2 separate regions of the Homo sapiens genome follow, and region 1 is linked to region 2. Evidence: promoter capture Hi-C in 16 types of primary human blood cells and fetal thymus (Javierre and others, 2016). All regions are on one chromosome and are shown on one strand. Each heading gives the region's core, a stretch centred on a gene start or on the middle of the fragment in contact. The rest is flanking DNA. Distances are from core to core; before and after follow the strand shown. Region 1 overlaps FKBP5 (FKBP prolyl isomerase 5). Region 2 holds the start of PPARD (peroxisome proliferator activated receptor delta).

The links. Contacts are between HindIII fragments. The CHiCAGO score rates a contact against its expected background, and 5 or more counts as called.
Region 1: a contact is called between a fragment that was not itself captured here and the fragment with the promoter of PPARD in region 2, in 1 of 17 cell types (naive CD4 T cells). The highest score is 5.2, in naive CD4 T cells.

The regions. Positions count from the first base shown.
Region 1 is chr6:35,625,412-35,628,111 of GRCh38, reverse strand. The region is part of intron 3 of FKBP5 (FKBP prolyl isomerase 5); the gene reads left to right. Among named protein-coding and RNA genes, the nearest start is that of MIR5690, 38 kb to the left of the region's middle. The HindIII fragment of the contact is 3,458 bases long and covers 1-2,700 here.
Region 2 is chr6:35,341,308-35,344,060 of GRCh38, reverse strand. PPARD (peroxisome proliferator activated receptor delta) reads right to left here and starts at 1,503. Exons shown (of 8, transcript NM_006238.5): 1 at 1,380-1,503. RefSeq lists silencers at 1,042-1,091, 1,122-1,261, 1,442-1,651. The HindIII fragment of the contact is 7,732 bases long and covers 1-2,209 here.

The sequences.
Region 1 (2,700 bases), core at 110-2,609, 280 kb before region 2:
ACCTTGCATTAGAAACCTTCCCATAAGAATATGGAGGAAGGCCGGGCACAGTGGCTCACACCTGTAATGCCAGCACTTTGGGAGGCCGAGGCGGGCGGATCACCTGAGGTTAGGAATTCAAGACCAGCCCTGACCAATATGGTGAAACCCCGTCTCTACTAAAAAAAAAAAAAAAAAAAAAAATTAGCTGGGCATGGTGGCGCATGCCTATAATCCCAGCTACTTGGGAGGTGGAGGCAGGAGAATCGCTTGAACCCGGGAGGCAGAAGTTGCAGTGAGCCAAGATCACACCATTGCACTCCAGCCTAGGCAACAAGAACGAAACTATGTCTCAAAAAAAAGAAAAAAGAAAAGATAAAGAATATGGAGGAAAGGCTTCATGACATTGGATTTTGCAGTGGTTTCTTGGCATGACATCAAAAGTACAGGCAACAAAAGTAAAACAATTAAACATAAATTACTGTACATCATAAATTAAACATAAATTAGAATACATCAAAATTAAAAACTTTTGTGCATCAAACAGTAACAGAATGAAAGGCAGCCTATGGAATGGGAGAAAAATGTTTGCAAATCTTATATCTGATAAGGGATTAATACCCAGAATACACAAACAACTCCTATAACTCAACAAAAACAACAAAATAGCCCAATTTAAAAATGGGTAAAGGACCAGTTGCAGTGGCCATACCTGTAATCCCAGCATTTTGGGAGACCTAGGTGGGAGGGTCACTTAGACGCCAGGAGTTCAAGACCAGTCTGGGCAACATAGCGATACCCTGTCTCTAAAAACTTTTTAAAAACTGGGCAAAGGGCTTGAAATTTCTCCAAAGAAGATATAAAAATGGACAACAAGCATATGAAAAGATGTTCAACATCACTAATCATTAGGGAAATGCAAGTCAAAACCACAGTGAAGTATTACCCTCATACCGGTTAGAATGGGTACTGTTAAAAAAAGAGAAAACAACAAGTGTTGATGAGGATGTAGAGAAATTGGAACCCTTATGCGCTGTTGGTGGGAATGTAAAATAGTGCAGCTGCTGTGGAAAACGGTATGGAAGTTCCTCAAAAAATTAAAAATAGAGTTACCATGTTGATCTAGCAGTTCTACTTGTGGGCATATAACCAACAGAATTGAAAGCAGGGTCTTGAAGAGATATTTGTACACTCATGTTTGTAGCAGCATTATTAACAGCAACCAAAAGGTGGAAGCAACTCAAGTGTCCTTCAATAGATGAATAGATAAACAAAATGTGATATAAACGTACAGTGGAATATTTACGTTTTAAAGAAAAATTCTGGCAGATGCTACAACATGGACGAACCTTGAGGGCATTATACTAAGTGAAGTAATCCAGTGACAAAAAGAAAAGTACTGTCTGATTCCACTTATATGAGTTATCTATCCAGAGTAGTCAAATTCATAAAAACAAAGTAGAATAGAAGTTGCCAAAGATTAGGGAAGGAGGAAATGCTTAATGGGTATAAAATTTTAGTTTTGCAAGATGAAAAAGTTCTGGAGATTGGTTGCACAACAATGTGAATATACTTAAAAATAGTGAACTGTGCACTTTAAAATAGCTAAGATGGTAAATGCTTTTTTTTATCCCCCCACAATTAAGCGTTTTTTTTAAAACTCAAGGAGAAAACATTATGTAGTCAGAATGTTCTGAAGTGGTCACTATAGTCTTTACTATAAATGAAACTGTTAAGTGATTAAAATGTTGTATCTTAAAATATGTTATATAATTTTTTTAAACCAGAAAAAAGTGTAACATTACAGAAGGAAGAAAAAGTATAATGCATTGCTTTTATACTGGGCTTTGTATGCTTTTAAACTTTTTCACCTGCCTATAGTTACATACGTATAAAAAGCATTTAAATTTAGTAATAGCTATATTATACATTTGTATACATATATATTCTTGTTTTATATTTTATTACAAATGGAATAAGACTCCTGAAATTGATAAATTGTGTATAAGCTAGTAAAACTGAAGTCCAGATCAAGTGTAAGAATAAATTGACGTGGCCAGGCACGGTGGCTCACGCCTGTAATCCCAGCACTTTGGGAGGCTGAGGCAGGCGGATCACGAGGTCAGGAGATCGAGACCATCCTGGCTAACACGATGAAACTCCATCTCTACTAAAAATACAAAAAATTAGCCAGGAGTGGTGGCTAGCGCCTGTAGTCCCAGCTACTCGGGAGGCTGAGGCAGGAGAATGGCGTGAACCCGGGAGGCGGAGCTTGCGGTGAGCAGAGATAGCGCCACTGCACCCCAGCCTGGGCGACAGAGCGAGACTCCATCTCAAAAATAAATAAATAAATAAATAAATAAATTGACATTATGTATTCTTGGTGTGTTTTTTTTTGAGACGGAGTCTTGCTCTGTCGCCCAGGCTGGAGTGCAGTGGCGCAATCTCGGCTCACTGAAAGCTCCGCCTCCCGGGTTCACGCCATTCTCCTGCCTCAGCCTCCCGAGTAGCTGGGACTACAGGCACTCACCACCACGCCCGGCTAATTTTTTGTATTTTTAGTAGAGACGGGATTTCACCGTGTTAGCCAGGATGGTCTCAATCCTCTGACCTCGTGATCTGCCCACCTCATCCTCCCAAAGTGCTGAGATTACAGGCGTGAGCCACTGCACCGGCCTATTCTTGGTGTATGTTACCTATGACTGAGATCCTGAAGATGAA
Region 2 (2,753 bases), core at 254-2,753:
AAAGGGGACAGATGCCCGCCAGCCCCAGGGCTATCAGGCCAGCAATCTATTTCAAAACTCAAACGGGAAAAAAAAAAGTTCTGGAGCCAGTACACAGAAAAAAGGTTGAGGACCACAAGTATTTTCTGGAGCACAGCTTCTGGAGAATTCTCTTAGTCCTTTCGGATGGAGCACAGGGTGGAGGGTGGGAGTGAGGGCAGAGAGAGGCTGGGGTATCATGGTATAAGTGTATTCCACACATCCAGAGTGGAAAGACACAAAACCCCGGTTCCTGGAAGGGGAAAAGAATTGGACAAAGCCTCCGGCTACCCGTGGCACACATCCAGCTCAGCGCCGTCTCCCCCAAGGGTTCCTGGAAGTCAACAGCCCCATAAAGGGGAAGTATTAAAGCTGAGATAAGAAGAATGGCCTACAAATTGGACATCATCTCTGATGCAACACCCACGTACATTCTCCCACACAATCTGTTATTTCCTTTAGTCAATCAGCCTCTTAATTCGATCAAGGTCTGAACACCTCCACCCCCACCCCATGGTTATGTCAACTGCAGGTCAAGTGAAAGTAGAGTAGAGTGTGGAGCTAAGGCTTCTCCCTGAAGCAGGGGAAAGGAACAGGGAGAGAAAAGGAGGTGGGCGACAGGAATGTAGGGGACAGAATTGATACGAAGGAAATCGGAAAAAGGAGCAAAAACAGGGCCTCTCAGGGAACCAAGGTGAGAGTCTTAGGGAGACAGGGACTGCAGGCACGGAGTTGGAAAAAGCCTAGGAACACCCTGGGGAAGAGGATGGGGACCCATAATACTAGGAGGGATCAGACCACAGATAAGAAGGGGACAGGGATGGGGAGAGAGAGTAAAGCCTGAGAGAGCAAGGATGGGAGGATGAAGGCAGGAGACAAGGATAACGAGGGGGACAGAGGAAAAGATCCCAGAGAAGACTCTCGCTAGATAGGGCAGTGGATTCAGGAACACCAGAAACGGGTGAAGGAAGAGGTCAGAGGCAGGGGAGGGGAATGGGAGAGGCCCCCGGGCCTGAGACGGGGTTCTCACAAGTGGGAGAAGACGAAGCCACCAGGCCCAAGAGGGGGCAAAGAGTAGGGTGGAAGGAGGCCCGTATTTCGGACTCACTCAAGCAGCTATGGGGGTCCAAGGGCGGGGGGGCGCAGGGTCAGCGGGGCGCCTACATGGCAACGCACGACGGCTGACCGGAGCGGGCCGGAGCATCAGGAAGCCGCCGTGACGCTGTCCGCGGACCCCGGCAGCTCCCCGCACCCCGTTCCCCGCCGCCGGGCCTTGCGCCCCAGTCCCGCTGGCCGCCTCGGCCCAGGCCCGGCGCTTCCCTCCGCCACTTGCCTGACCGCTTCTCTCGTCTCGGACTGACCTGTCCCGGCTGCCTACGGCGCCACCGCCGCCGTCCCGCAGGCTCCGCAGAATTCTCCCGCTCCTGCCAAAACTTTTCCCATTAATCCCCAGGTCCGCGGCGGCCGCAGCGTCACACGCTCCGCGGCCCGGCCCCGCCCCCGCCAGCGAGACGTCACCGCGCTGCTCGGCCTTTCCCTCCCCACGCCCCCTTCCGCCCGGCGGCGGCCAATCACCACGCCTCCTGGAGACTCCCCTAATTCTGCCTCTCCGCCCACCGCACGCTGCCCCGGGCCAGCCTGTGGCGCCCTCTGGTGCGGGATGCGGACGTAGCAGCTAAGGGAGGAGCAGGGGAGCGCCAGGTCCAGTAGAACAAGTCCAGCAAGTGACACAAGAGGGAATTTAAAGCTGGAAGGGAATTTCTAGGTCATCTAGTGCAACCTCCTCATCTTCCAGTGAAGAAACTTAGTCCTAGAAAAGGTACGTGACTTGCAGTGACAAGTCTGGAGAGACTCTTAACCCAGTGCTAGGTCCACTGGAGGAGATCATATCGCCTATAATTTTCAAAAAAGGGCTTTCCGCCTTCAAGAGGCTTCTACAACTGGAAATTTACGGTCTTAGAGTTCTTAACCTTTCTTCCCATGTGCTTATGCAATACGCTTATTCACCTAAAATAGGGGACATCCTCCTTATTGTTGTAGAAAATTCTGTTCTTATTAATCCACATCTTTAAGACCTGGAAGGGACCTATTATCCCAACCTACCGCTTAAGATGTACCACAGGAAACTACCTAGCAGCTGGGAGGCAATCTGGTGGAAGAAGTTGGCTTTCATCTGACGATGAACAAAGCTTGACTCTCAGGTATATGACCAATGCCTCCCCTCCATCATCATTAAAGATGACCCCTCCCCTCTCCTTCGGCCACACCTTCCGTAGGCCGCAAGCTCCTTAGGCCACACCTAGCTATCTGGATGAGTGATTTTTTTTTTTTTTTTTTTTTTTGAGACACAGTTTCACTCTGTCGCCCCTGCTGGAGTGCAGTTGCGCAATCTCAGCCCGCTGCAACCTCCGCCTCCCGGGTTCAAGCGATTATCCTGCCTCAACCTCCCAAGTAGCTGGGATTACAGGCATGCGCCACACGCCCAGCTAATTATTGTAATTTTAGTAGAGACAGGGTTTTGCCATGTTGCCCAGGCTGGTCTTGAACTCCTGGACTCAAGTTATCCTCCCACCTTAGCCTCCCAAAGTGCTGGAATTACAGGCGTGAGCCACCGTGCCTGGCAGGGATGAGTGATTTTTTCCCCCTTCTTTCTGCTTCTCTTTTTCTTTTTCTTTTTTTTCCCCTACTTTTTGAAATGCTTGTGCATTATATTTGTAACTTAGATGTCAACCTCC